Linked DNA regions of Homo sapiens: regions 1 and 3 are each linked to region 2. Evidence: promoter capture Hi-C in 16 types of primary human blood cells and fetal thymus (Javierre and others, 2016). All regions are on one chromosome and are shown on one strand. The core of a region is centred on a gene start or on the middle of the fragment in contact, and the rest is flanking DNA. Distances in the headings are between cores, read along the strand shown.

Region 1 (4,599 bases), core at 1,753-4,252, 560 kb after region 2:
TATCATAGAATAAGAAAGCTCAGAGGTGGAGGAGTTCCCCCAAGGCCCACAGCAAGCCACCTGCTCAGTCAGGGTTCCACCCCAGCTCAGCTGGCTGCAAGCCTCACTTTTTAATGACAGGTCCTCTGCTGCTAGAAAGCCCCCAAAAGTCAGAGCCAAAAACAGCCTCTAGACCAGGCTCTTAACTTTACAGATAGAAAATGTGAGTCCCAGACAGGGGAAGGAACATGTCCAAGGTCACACAGCAGAAGTGTCACCCAGGGTTCTGAGCTAGGCAGGGTAAGAATATGCCTGGGGTGAAAAGGGCTGTGCCTGCACCCCAGAGTCATGTTCAGGTTGTTAAAAATGCAGACAGTCAGGTGGCCAAAGGCAAGGAATAGATTAGTTTACAACCCTGCCGCTAGCTCCCAGTTCAGGCAAAATGCAGCTTAAATGCTCCAGCCCATCACTCATGAGACCCCACTGTAAACTGGGTCCCCTCCCCAACAGGCCTGTCCCCTTGCTGGTCCCTACATCTCCATCCATTTCCAATCTCTGCCTGAATTTCCACATATGTCCTCTCTTCCTACCCAAACCCCTCATGTTCTTTAAGGCCAAGCCTCAGTTCCACATATGGTTTATGCAGATTCCTGCAGACTGTGTGGCACAAAGTAGGTGCTCAATGAAGGAAGGAAGCACAGAGGGAGGGAGGATGGAGAGTAAGAGGAGGGAGGACAGAAGGAGGACAGAGGGAGGGAGGAGGGAGAGCAGGAGGAAGGGAAAGGGAAGAGGGTAAGGGAATGTAGAAGAGGGATGGATGGATGGATGGATGGATGGACATATAGACGGATGGATGGATGGATGGATGGCAGGTGGACAGATGGATAGATGAGTGGAAGGAAGAGAAGAACGAGGGAAAGTGGAGGGATGAACGGCTGGGGAGTGATCAGACAGGGAAGTAGATGAATGGATGAATGGAAGGAAGGGAATAATAATGGGTAAAAGGATAGAGGGATGAACAGGAGGTGGGTGGATGGTGGGTAGGCAGGTGGGTGAAGGATGGTGGGGCACTGAGAAAGGACAGCCAGCCCAGCTGGGGGCAGAGGGGGCCAGCATCCTAGAGGAGCTCTTAACTGATCTGAACCTTGAAGATGAGTAGATGCTGAGCAAGCAGCGGAAGTGAGGATAGACATCCCATTTGCCCAAGGAAGCACCCAGGCAAAGTGCAGACGTGTGAAAGACTGGTCTGATGGAAACTGCAAGCAGTTATGTATTGTTAGAGTTCACAGCTCAAGGCTGGGCCTGCCCGATGAAACTGAGAGCCTTAGGCCAGGTGGTGATAAAGGTGCTGGGAAGCTCAGACTTTATCCTGATGACACTGGAGCCACTGAAGGGTCCTAAGCTGGTGAGTGATGCTGTCGGATGTTTCACAAAGGCCACCCTGGTCTCCATGCAGAACATACTTTGCCGTGGTGTGGGGGACCAGTAGGGAGAATTTGCCATATCCAGGTAAGGGATGTTGTTGGCTCAGACCTCTCCTCTCCCAGGAAGCCCCACCCCATCAGCTCAGGTCACCTGGCTTTCTCCCCATCTCTCAGACCTCCCACTGCCTCTGTGATCTGTGCCCCCACCCTTGATTATACCTCCCCATAGTGCCTTAGGGGGCCACAAAGTGTTTTTCACATAGTCAGTCCTCAGTGTTACTCTGGTCTGATGCAGGAGACACAACCCTTGCCCGTGGGCTGTCCAGTCTGATGGAGGAGGGTTGCAGAGCCCAGAGTTTTCCCTGTGCCATAGGCTGAGGGGAGCCAGGAGCACAGGAGCCACAAGGTGGGGTGGATTAGCACACAGAAGTTTTCTTGGAAAGGGTGCGCTTTGACTCAGGTTTTGAAAGAAGGAAGAACCCTGGAGGGTGGAGTGGGGAGAGGGCGTGGCTGTGGGAACTCCAGCACAGTGGTGAGTTGCGGGGAGAGTCAGCACCTGGGAGTCGGAATGTCTGTGTCAGGAGTCCTGAGCTCTGGTCGGCAGGACAGAGGGAAAGGGAAAGAGGAAGGGAAGGGGTCGCCGAGTAGTTCTAGCCTCATGGATAGAAAGAGTCATTTCCCACAGTCAGAGATGTGGGAACAGATTCAGCATCTTGCACCCCACCTCCCTCCCCCAGACGGGATACCGCATGGGATCAAGGAAGGAGCAGGGCCTCCCGATCAGAAAGACCAGCTTTCAAGTCTTGGCTCCATCACTGACGAGCCATGTGACCTTGGACAGGCCATTGCAGCCGTCCAAGCTTTGGTTTTCCATCAAATAGGAATAGAACCAGTTCAGCCTGGCAGGATTATTGAGAGGAGTGGGTAAGTCAGCGCAGGTGGCCAGCATGGTACTGGGCACAGAGGAAGTGTTTGGTAAAAGTTCACTTAAATTAAGCCCAAGTTAGACCAAAGGGAGTGGGGGATGCAAATGGAGAACAGGTGTCAAGGTTCAGCCAAAGACCTTGAGGCAGAGAACAGAGAAGAGTCCAGGATGTTACTGGAGCTCCTGTTGCAGGAGCTGGGAGCTGCTGAGGTCAGCCGGCCAGGTGATGGGCTGGTGAGTCTGCAAGGGCCTGGCCAGGGTGGAGGCTGTGGGAATAGGGCAGGCCTGGAAACTGATGAGGAAGAGTCAGCGGATGGTTTAGGTGTGAGGGGAGAAGGCCTGGGAGCTTCCAGCAGGGCCCACATTCTGTGGCTGGAATGAGGGGATGGGGAAGCAGCCTCTCAGGTTTCAATGAGGCCATCCTGGTTGTCAGTGCAATATTTGCAAAAAAATGACCATTTCTGTCTCCCAGTTCCAAAAGAGGGCATGGATGGCTTATGATAAAAGACATATTTATAATAAAACTAAAAATATCCAGCAAGGATAGAAGAAAAATAAATCAAGAATTAGGTAACAGGATATATTGATGGGCACATTTTGGTTGCAAGCAACGGAAACTCAGCTTGAATTAGCTTCTAAAAGAGGCAATTCAGGGCTGGGCATGGTGGCTCACACCTGTAATTCCAGCGCTTTGGGAGGCTGAGATAGGAGGATCACTTGAGCCCAGGAGTTCAAGACAAGCCTGGGCAACATAGTGAGATACCATCTCTACAAAAATAAATAAATAAAATAATTAGCCAGGCATGGAGGCATACACCAGTAGTCCCAGCAACTCAGAAGACTGAGGTGGAAGGATTGCTTAAGCCCCAGCAGGTCAAGGCTGCAGTGAGCCATGACCACAGCACTGCACTCCAGCCTGGGTGGCAAAGTGAGACTCCATCTTAAAAAAAAAAAAAAAAAGACAATCAATAAAACAATAAATCAAGCCCCAATTTATAACATTTATTTTTTTCGTGTTGTAAATACCCCCACTGTGGCCAATTTCAAGCAACCAACAGGGAGTCACTTAACACAGGGTTGGGAAGAGACGTGCAGTAGCTCACTGCCTTATAGCATGTCCACCATATGGATAAAATGGTCATAAGTACCTCAAGAGCACAGATATTAGTACAATGTAGTAAAATAATTTGGAAGGAATGAGTTTTCAGTATGCATTACCTTTGTTCTCAATATAATTCATTTAATTTTAAGTTCGTATAATTTAATTTTTGATGAGGGCCATATTTAACAATCACCTTGCAAAATTCCTGAAATTTTAATGTCCAGCTCTCAAGAGCCAGCATGAGCCAGCTCCAGCGTGCCAATGAGCCTCGAGGTTTAGGCCATAAGCAAGAGACTAGGAGGGACAAAGGGAAAGCTTCTGGATAAAACAAAGTGAAAGAGGGAAAACCAGATTGGGGGAGGATATTGGTGAGGGAAGGGGAAGAAGAGTTGGTGGGCCCCCACGGTCAGGGAGACAGCCTAGGTGGACAGGAGCAGAGGCAGCATCCAGAGGCTGTGCAGCCTTCACAAGGCAGACCAGGCACTGTCTGCCTCCCAGGGAGCCACATGGGAGCCCCATGGGGGTATCCAAGTCTGTGCTGCCTCGTTATCTCAATTATCTCATCAGTGTTCTGTTGGTTGTTCTCTCTGTCAGCATCTAGCGAGGACTGTTCTACTGCAGCACTCAGTGTGCATCTGTCCTTTGACTGTCCCAGCTTGAGTGATGTCTGTGTGTCCCAAGACTTTGGTTACTCCCCATCTAACTTAACCCATATGAGCAACACCCCCTTCAAAGAACTGGAGGAGTGATTGGGGGAAAGGAAATGATGGTGCTGGGGGTGTTGGAGGTACTGGAGGTAGTGGTGGTGGTGGTGGTGGTGGTGGTGATGGAGATGGAGATGGTGGTAATGATGGTGGTGATTGTGGTGGTCATGGTGGTGATGGTGGTAGTGGTAATGGTGGTGATGATGTGGTGGTGGTAGTGGGGGTGGGGGTGGTGATGGTGGTAATGATGGCAGTGATTATGGTGGTGATGGCAGTGATGGTGGTAGTGGTGATGGTGGTGGTGATGGTGGTGGTGGTGGTAGTGGTGGTGGGGGTGGTGATTTCAGTGGTGGTGGTGGTGGTGGTAGTGGTGGTGGGGGTGGTGATTTCAGTGGTGGTGGTGGTGGTGGTGCAGGGGCGAGTGGTGATGGTGGGGGTGATGGTGGTGGGGCGTATTGGTGTGGT
Region 2 (4,938 bases), core at 1,091-3,590:
TGTTAATTAGTTTGATTTAGCCATTGTACGAAGTATACATATTCCAAAAAAATGTGTTGTACACAATAAATACATATAATTTTTGTCAATTCAAATAAATAAATAAATGAACTCATTTAACCATATGTGTATTTGAGGGTTTATTTCTAGGCTCTCTGTTCTTTTCCATTGCTTTATATATCTGTCTTTATATCAGTATCACACTGTTATGATTACTGTAGCTTTACAGTAAATTTTGAAACAGGAAAATGTGAGACCAACTTTGTTCTTTTTTAAGATTGTTTTGGCTATATAGGACCCCTTCTAATTTCATATGTATTTTAGGATGGATTTTTTTAAAATTTCTGCAAAAACATCATTGGGATTTTTATAGGGATTGCGTTAAATCTGTAGATTCTCTGGGTAGTATTGACATCTTAACAATATTAAATCCTATAATCCATGATCTCAGGATGTCTTTTCATTTATTTGTGTCTTCTTTAATTTCTTTCAGTAACATTTTGTAGTTTCTGGTGTACGAGTCTTTCCCCTCCAAGGCTAAGTTTGTTCCTAAGTATTTTATTCTTTATTTTATTATTATTATTATTATTTGAAATGGAGTCTCACTCTGTCACCCAGGCTGGAGTGAAGTGGCACAATCTTGGCTCACTGTAACCTCCACCTCCTGGGTTCAAGCAATTCTCATGCCTCAGCCTCCCCAGTAGCTGGGACCACAGGCATCCACGAACATGCCTGGCTAATTTTTGTATTTTTAGTAGAGACAGGGTTTCACTATATTGGCCAGGCTGGACTTGAGCTCCTAACCTCAGGTGATCTGCCCACCTCAGCTTACCAAAGTGCTGGGATTACAGGCATGAGCCACCATGCCCGGCCATAAGTATTTTATTCTTTTGATGGAATTGTTTTTAAAATTTTCCTTACAGATTTTTCATGGTTAGTATATAGAAATGCAATTTATTTTTTTTAGTAGAGATGGGGTTTCACCATGTTGGCCAAGCTGATCTCAAACTCCCGACCTCGTGATCTGTCTACCTTGGCCTCCCAAAATGCTGGGATTACAGGTGTGAGCCACCGTACCCAGCCAGAGATTTTGATTTCTGTAACTTCCTGGTTGTGAAAGCACTGTGTAAGGTTAAGTTATGGTAACAGAGCCTTTGCCATTTCTGAGGCCCTAAATAACTACACTTACTCTATGTTTTTATGGTCATTAACCTCCACTGGACCTCTGGATAACAAATTTCCTAATGTGGTATTAGAAGAGAAGGGATATCAAAAGCAGATTAAAGTTTTTCATATGACATTCTATGAAATATACATCCTGAGTACACTCAATGAAAAAAAAAAGATATGTTTGTTGCACCAATAGTTAAAATTTATTAGACCTTGGTATATTATTCCTCTTTCATAGGGGGTGCAATTTGCAGGACGGTGGGATACAGGAAGTGAGTGTCCTGAGAAGGACAGATGGCTCTTCCATGGTCTCGTCGGCGCTGAGACTCAGAGCGTGGGCTTCAATGCTTGCAAAGGCTCAGTTTCAAGGTAAATCGGCTTTTTCATTTCTTGGGTCAAATTTGTATTTTGGCGTCCTCAGAGAGAAGAGTAAGGTCTTTCTGGAATTGAAAGGAATCAGATAATTCTGAGGCCAAAATATTTGGTAACCCCCATAAGAAAGACAAAGAAAGGTTGAAGAATTTGTTCGTTGTCCATAAGTGCTTGAAGAAATAATTCGTTCATGAATGGAACTGAAAGTGGAAATTTCAAGTTGAAAATCAGCAAACTGGCTTTTAGCAGGTGGGCTCACAGGAGTAGCAGCAGCAGACTGGGCGGCAGCAGGACTGTCCACAGTAGGATGGGCGGCAGCAGGAGGCCTCGGCGTGGTGCAGCTGGCAGCAGGTTGGGGGTGTGCAGCTCACCACACAGCAGGGGGGCAGGCAGGTACCCTCCACACGGCAGTCTGGGCGGCACCACCTGATACGGGTGCTCACAGCTCCACTGCTGCCCTCCTGGCCATAGCCAATGCCACCACCAATGCCACAGCCAGTTCCGCAGGAGCTGGTCTGGCAGCAGCTTGGCTGGCAGCAGCTGGTCTCACAGCAGCTTGGCTGGCAGCAACTGGAGCTGCAGGTCCCACTAGTTGAGAAGCTAGGAAATCCGCAGAAGCTGGTCTGGCAGCAGCTTGGCTGGCAGCAGCTGGTCTCACAGCAGCTTGGCTGGCAGCAGCTGGAGCCGCATGTCCCACTGGTGGAGCAGCTGGGATATCCACAGAAGCTGGTCTGGCAGCAGGTCATGGTGTTGGGAGCTGGTATGAAGTCTGGGTTGCTTGGAGGAGTTTCTGAGTTTTGGTGATGGCTGCCACATTGGGCCTTTTATAAGCCTGGGCCAGCTACTGTTTACATAATTCCAGAAGTCTCTTGCTTATTTGTGTTGGATAATTTGTCTCTGAATGATAATTGGCCTCTCCCTGAATTATTTGTTGAACCTACTGAGAGCCTTTGAAAGTTGATTGTATTTGGTCTGCAATTAGGCTTCTTTACCATGGTCAAGAAGTCATTGGCATTAATTAGGAATATGATCCCTAACTCCTCATGTTTCTTAAAATTTCCTCATGGTCAAGGAATAATTGACTGATGCCTCACCTTTAAGGATTGTCAATATTACTCAGTGTTGACCCTTACAACTGGGTGATTGGGTCTCACATGACAGTTTAATTCCCTCCAATTTTAACTGTGGCTCCTTCTCTAACTTTCTTATCTTCCCTTTGACTGTGAAGCAAGACTATATTCAGCTGGCCAGAAAGGGATGCTTTCTTGGGCCTGGGAGATTTGCATTAATTGCTATTGATAACATTTTCCCATCACTGATTATGTGCCTAAATAGTTCTGAGTACTTCGCATGTATCAATTTGCTGAATTTTCACGGCAATCTATGGGCTAGGTATCACTGCCACTCCCATCAACCATGTGAGAAAACTGAGCCACAACAGGTTGAAGTAACTTACCCTAGTTCACACTAGTATCTAGTGAATCTGAAATTTGAATCCACAACCTCTGATTCCAGACTAAACTCTTTAAACACTATAGTCAATTCTTTCTCTCTTTCTCTCTGTCTTTCTCCCTTCCTTCCTTCCTTCCCTCCTTTCTTCTTTCTTTCTTTCTTTCTTTCTTTCTTTCTTTCTTTCTTTCTTTCCTTCTTTCTCTTTCTTTCTTTCTTTCCTTTCTTTCTTTCTTTCCTTCCTTCCTTCCTTCCTTCCTTCCTTCCTTCCTTCCTTTCTTTCTTTCTTTCTTTCTTTCTTTCTTTCTTTCTTTCTTTTTCTTCTTTCTCCTTTCTTTCTTTCCTTTCTTCTTTTTTTATGTAAAAAGTCATTCTAAGGAAATTCCAATGGTGAAAGCAAGCCGTAAAAATTTGCTTCCTTTCTTACGGACTTTTTTGAGAGTAAAAGGAAGGAAGGGAGAGCTTAGGGTAAGTAATAACACAGTTTACTACAGCCATTCCTAGAGATTTTATTTATTTATTAACAGCATAATAAGCACAGTTCAAGAAAATCTTAAGTGCTAAAAAAGTTAACCTTCTTGTGACTTTGTCTCATCTTTTATCTTAGGATATTCTATAGATTTAGATTTTTTAACTGCATAAAATTATAGTTTTTAACATATTAATACTGGAGTATGTGATTTACTACAGAGTGTTAGATCGGCTGTATGCAGTTTATTATAGATATTAGAGACTAATCCAGTGAACTGGAAAGTTTATATAATTTGAATGAGACAGCTGATGACGGTGAATATAAAGGTTTTGTTTAGATGCAATAAAAGGTGACCAGGCCTCCATGGAGTATGGGTTCATTACTGAGAAATGCAAGTTACGATGCTACTCTTGGATTTTGAACCAGAACACCAAGTGGTAGTTCTGCTTCTCTAGAAATGACAGCTTTGAGTTTACATCATAACTCTTTCTGAGTCAGAATTAAGACATATTTTCAAATCCCACATCAAATTTGGTTTAAAAGATATGATTCTTTGTGAATTCCTTGCTTCTTCTTAAGCAAAGCTACATCACAGATTCTTTGATTAGCTAATATTTTTTATGTTGGATGCTTGAAATACGTGGGTGTGTCATGACAACAATCTCGGGAGCTATTTAATTCAGATCTAAATTTAGCAGAATCTTTGATACTAAACAGATGTATCTCCTTTTGCAAAAGGCTCAGATATCTGAGGACCTGAAATACATTATTGATAAGAGCACTGGAGACAGTGGCGTTGCATATCAGTTCTCCCTTTCTGGGCTTTTCTACTGTGGCACTATTTTCAACATCTTCCTCAATGCAAAATTTAAGGTATGACACTTACTTGAGAATTTGACTCCTGTGCCACAGAACGAAGACTAATCTGAACATTCCCTTACCTCCTCTAAGTAAATTAAGAAAATGAAATTTATTTTATTTCACTTTACATTATATCCTTCAAGTTTAGGTATGTTGTAATATGTGACCGAATTTCCTGCTTTTTATAGACTCAATAGTATTCCGTTGTGTGTATATACCACATTTCTTATTACTGTGCTGATTCCCTCTGGCATTCATTACTTCATTTAAGTGATGGGCTGTAGACCATTCCAGTACCATAAGAAGAAAGAATGTGTTTGTCTGTTATTCCTGAACGTGGCTTTGGTTTAACACAGACACTAATGTTTGAAATTATTTTTCTTTAAGATATCATGGTTCTGGTTTTCTAGTTACAAGTTCTGGGGATTCTCCCAATTTCTTCATCTCCGTTTTACTAGTTCTCTAATTCGGTTGTGACTGCCTTACTTAGATTCTCGAGAAATAAAACATGATTGATGTACCAGTCAAATGAATACAACATTCCTATGTAGGGCTTCTGTGCTTCTGCTCTGGGCTTCCATCCTAGTAATCTAGACCAGATAACACATAAACTT
Region 3 (4,769 bases), core at 1,594-4,093, 520 kb after region 2:
TTTCCCTCCATCTTGACAAATGCTCCTTCTGACAACCCCAACATGACTGAGTCATGGTGAGGGCAAGAGATGAAAGGAATCATGTTTGAGAGTTTGGCCTGAGTTCGGGTGAGGATGGCATGTCTCTGAGGCTGAGGGTGCTGGTAGCAGCAAAGACAGACTGAGGGATTCCCGGGTGGGAAGAAAGCTCAGGAATATCAAAGCCATCGGAGGACACATGAGTGTCACACCCAGCATGTGGGTGCAGAGCCGTCCTTAGGGACTGTCTGTCCTTGCAGGGTTATTCACCCAGGACCCCTCTGCACCCACACTCTGCTTCTGATACTCATGTGTTCTCCGACAGCTTTGATCTTCCTGGGGAGAGATCAAGGTAACTCTTGGAGAAAATTGAGGCCACAGCGCAATCTTAAAAAGTGTTAAAAATTGTTAGAGGCCAGATAGGTCGTGCTAAGAGCAGGAGGTAGGGAGCCAGATCAACACTGGTGTGGGTGACTTGGGCAAGGAACTTTTCTTCTCTGAGCCTCAGTTTCCTCATCTGTAAATGGAAGCAACAAGAGCAACCTCACACAGTTGTGAGAAATCAACAAAATGACATATGGAAGCTTCCTGGCCCATGCCTATCCTAGGAAGCTTCCCTAGCCACCATGGCCAGCTCAGGAGACCCCATCTGAAAGTACAGCCCATCCCTCTCATCACCGATGGCACTCACTCAGCACTGGCCTGTCTGCCTGTCTGCCTCTGGCACCAGACTGTGAGCCCATGGGGGCAGAGACCTTGTCTGTTCTGCTCACAATTCCATCTATTCCCAATCCCTGCCACAGAATAGGCACCCAGTGAAGATCTGTTGAATGAATGAATGAATGAATGAATGAATGAATGACTTGAAGAGGGGATGAAAATAGACAGGAACTCCAATACGAGATTTTCAAAAACAGGCAGGTGAGGACCCACCAGGCCTTACCTCTCCTCACGATCTTTTAACTTCTTGTCGTACTATTTCTCCTGGGTTTTATTTTGTTGTTGTTGCATCATTTCTTGAACTTTCTTTCTGGTTTCACAAGAATTCCCTCAGACAATCCCAGTGGATCTCAGTCTAGTAAGAGGAACAGAGAAAGGAACTGATTTTATTCCTGTTTGGGCCTGAGATGGGGAGTGCTTCAGAGCCTGAAGCCAAGAGGCTGCAGCAGCAGCAGCAGCCTCCACAACCAAGCAGGACACTCCAAGGGGCGGGGACTCGAGATCAAAGCTCTAGAGATTTGGGTAGATATTTGCGGACTGTTAGAATGATATGAATAATAATAGAGACCCTCCTCTGTCATCCTCCTCCCTGCACCGTTTGCTCATTCACCCATTCCTTCCTTTGACAAGCACAGACCCAGGGCCTTCTAGGGGGAATCTGAGATCCCAGGAAAGAATCTACCTGTGCCAGGTCACTCGTCTTATTCTCAGCTCTTCATACAGTCATTGCTTCCCACGTAAGCCTTTTTTCTTTCCTTTTTTTTTCTTTTCTTTTTCTTTTTTTTTTTTTAATTTAGAGACAGTCTCATTCTGTTGCCCTGGCTGGAGTACAGTGGTATGATCATGGTTCACAGCAGCCTCAAACTTCTGGGCTCAAGTGATCCTCCCACCTCAGCCTCCCAAGTAACCCAGTAATTAGGACAACAGGTGCATGCCACCATGCCTGTCCAATATTTTTTTCTTTTTTTGGTAGATGCGGGGTCTTGCTCTGTTGCCCAGGCTGATCTCAAATTTCTGGCTTCAAGTGATCCTCCTACCTCAGCCTCTCAAAGTGCTGGGAATACAGACATGAGCCGCCACACCCAGCCCACATAAGGTATTTTTGACAAGCCTCTGCTTATGGGATTTGCTAGCCTCTGTATTCTTTTGGGGCTCAATAATTGCTCAAGGCCATAGAGAACAGGAAACAGAGCACCAGCTTTGGAGCCAGGCCAAACTGGAATTATATCTTTGCTTGATCATTTACAAGCTATGTGACCTTGGACAAGTTACTTAACCTCTCTAACTTAGAATTTCCTCATCTATAAAATGGGCTTCATAATCCCAGTGTCCTTGGATCAGACTTCCTAGATTCAGTTCCTGTCTCCACTGCTTAGGAGCTGTGTGACCTTTTCAGCAAGTCATTTAATCTCGCTAAAAATGTTTCCTCATGTGTAAAATGAAAACAAGGACAGCATCATGAGATTGCTGTGAAGATTAGATACAGGGTTTATTCCCTTATCTTATATAAAATGCTTAGCGAAGTGCCTGGAACATTATTAAGTGCGCAATCAGTGTTAGTCCTTGCTCCTTCCTTGTGGACAATTGTTCTTACACTTAGTCGCCCAGCTCCTTTGTAAAGGAATTCTCCCTCTAGTGTCTGTGCCTCCTGGCTATAGAAGCCAGAAATTAGCCTTCCAGCCTCCCTTGCAGCTGGAGCACAGACACATGATCAGTCACACACATCACAGAAGCCTGTAAGCTGGGAGCTAATGTCCTAAAAAAGGAGGCACCTGGTGGAATCCATGCTGGAAGGAATAACTGCAGACCTCCAGTTTCTAGAAGCAGCAGCGCCACAAGTTTGGTGATAGCGCCAAGTGGAATGGGCTACTGAATCTGCACCTGCAGATAGTGGCAAGGGTGGGCTTGCTCCGGGCTGTGCTGCCTTCAAACCTGTTCCCTGCGAGTTCTTCCTGGAGAGTCTATGGCTTACCTAACATCCTTTAACAAACTGGCTTCAGAGTGTGGCTTCTGATCTTTGCAGGCAAAAACCCTGATGGCTACAGAATTTAGTAACAAGTGTGATTACTGGCATGAGACTTCTAAAAGATCTCCGTTTGGGTGTCCAAAAGACAATGTAAATTTAGCATGTCTGAAACTGACTCCCCATCTTTCATACCAGCCAACTTCCATCCCACAACTCCTATCATCCAGTTGCTCAGACAAAAGACTCAGAGACCTCCTTGACTTCTTTCTTTTACAATATGCAGTCCTTCAAGAACTCCTGGCAGTGCTTTCTTCAGATGATGCTCAGAATCCAGCCACCTCTGACCGTCTTCACTCTGAGTGCCAGGGGCTCTTCACCTCCCTGCACACTGGGCTCTCTGTTTCTGCTCCTAGCCTCGCAGCCTCTCATCAAGTGGCCTGTCACTCCTCTGCTCAAGGCACTGTGTGTTAGGATGATCATCAGCACTAGCTGCTGTGCCTGGAGTGGTCCCCACACACGCTTGACTGCCTCCCTCACTCCGTCAAGTTGATACAGAAGGGCTGGGCTCCTGGCTAAACCCTACCCTTAAGCCTGGAACCTCGGCCCTAAAGGACCCCATTTTCCCCAAAAATGTTACCTTTTTGGCCTGCCTGCCCACATGCTGTGCCCATAAAAGACTTCAGCTGGCAGAGCAACACAAGCGGCTGAGCACTGAGGATATAAGCAGCTGAGCGGCGAGCAGAAAAGCAACTGAGCATCGGAGACTGTGGATAGATCTGGCTAACTTCAGATGGTGCAGCTTTGGAGAGGGGCCCTGCCGGAGACGGTGGGGCTTCAGGGAAAGATCACCATCCCATCACCTTTCCATCCTCCCTTTCCACTGAGAGCCACCCAACACCCAGTAAAGTATTTTGCATTCGTCACCTTTCAAACAGTTTATGTGACCTGATTCTTCTTCCTGGACGCCAGACAAGAACCTGGGTGCCAAGAAGGCAGGGGCTGCCACCCTGAACCTCCATTGAACTGGTTGGTATTTGGCCATCCCCTGACAGCACAGCTGAAAGAATAGGGACGCTGCTGCAGGGCCCGAACAGAGCCTGCTCCTGCCAGAGAGGAGCAACCGGCTGGTTCCAGCGTTCATTTGCTCCGGTTCCCACACTTGCTCACACACTCACTCCCACAAGGAGTGGCCAGCAACAGGCTGAGTGAAACAAAGTGCTCCTTAGCTGGGCGTGATGGTGTGTGCCTGTAATCCCAACATAAGAAACCCCATCTCTACTAAAAATACAAAATTAGACGGGCTTGGTGGCCCGTGCCTGTAATCCCAGCGACTCGGGAGGCTGAGGCAGGAGAATCACTTGAACCCGGGAGACGGAGGTTGCAGTGACCTGAAATCTCACCACTGCACTCCAGCCTGGGCAACAGGGCGAGACTCAGTCTCAAAAAAAAACAAAACAAAAACAAAAAACAAAGTGCTCCAGTTCCCGCCCATGAAGGGCGTCAGGGCAACTATTCCATCGCAAAGTCATTGCTTATGTTTTACCTTCTCAGTGAACCCAACCTTGGCCATCCTATTTAACATTGCTCTCCTCCCCACCCTGCCATAGCACTCCAATCTCCCTTGATATTCCCTACTTCTTTGCGCACTTACCACCTTCAAGTATAGTATTATTTATTTCTTTATTACATTTGTTGCTCTTGCCCAACCCTTACCTATAATGCAAGCTCTATAGAGGCAGAAATCTTTGTCTCTTTTGTTCATTGATATATCCCAAGCACCTAGGACAGTGCCTGGCATAAAAGGAGCTTGATACATATTTATCCAGTGAAGTTTGTTGAATGAATGACATGAGAATCACTTTGGTTATCTGGCCTAGATGGGCCAGTGAAAATCTGGCTATGATTAAAATGAGCTTCTAGAAGCCCACAGCATGTGAATTAAATTGGAGTGGGCTTGTTTCTTTTAACTGTACTGAAGAGCTTAGAGAAGGAGTAATACACTTGAAGTTCTAAGTTCCTGATTCTGTAGACAGTCAGAGGACCAGGGACTGTCCACAATTATTCT

What was found. The method cuts DNA at HindIII sites, captures the fragments that hold promoters and counts their contacts. A CHiCAGO score of 5 or more calls a contact.
Region 1: a contact is called between a fragment that was not itself captured here and the fragment with the promoter of KRTAP1-3 in region 2, in 7 of 17 cell types (naive CD8 T cells, total CD4 T cells, non-activated CD4 T cells and 4 more). The highest score is 11.1, in naive CD8 T cells.
Region 3: a contact is called between a fragment that was not itself captured here and the fragment with the promoter of KRTAP1-3 in region 2, in 5 of 17 cell types (activated CD4 T cells, naive CD8 T cells, non-activated CD4 T cells and 2 more). The highest score is 8.3, in activated CD4 T cells.

Annotation. Positions count from the first base shown.
Region 1 is chr17:41,593,877-41,598,475 of GRCh38, forward strand. No RefSeq gene overlaps it. Among named protein-coding and RNA genes, the nearest start is that of KRT14, 9.3 kb to the left of the region's middle. The HindIII fragment of the contact is 1,482 bases long and covers 2,262-3,743 here.
Region 2 is chr17:41,032,534-41,037,471 of GRCh38, forward strand. It overlaps KRTAP1-3 (keratin associated protein 1-3), which reads right to left and starts at 2,341. Exons shown (of 1, transcript NM_030966.2): 1 at 1,351-2,341. The coding sequence starts at 2,288. The coding sequence ends at 1,785. The HindIII fragment of the contact is 12,344 bases long and covers 1-4,938 here.
Region 3 is chr17:41,553,319-41,558,087 of GRCh38, forward strand. It overlaps LINC00974 (long intergenic non-protein coding RNA 974), which reads right to left and starts at 1,177. Exons shown (of 3, transcript NR_038442.1): 1 at 962-1,177. The HindIII fragment of the contact is 4,431 bases long and covers 629-4,769 here.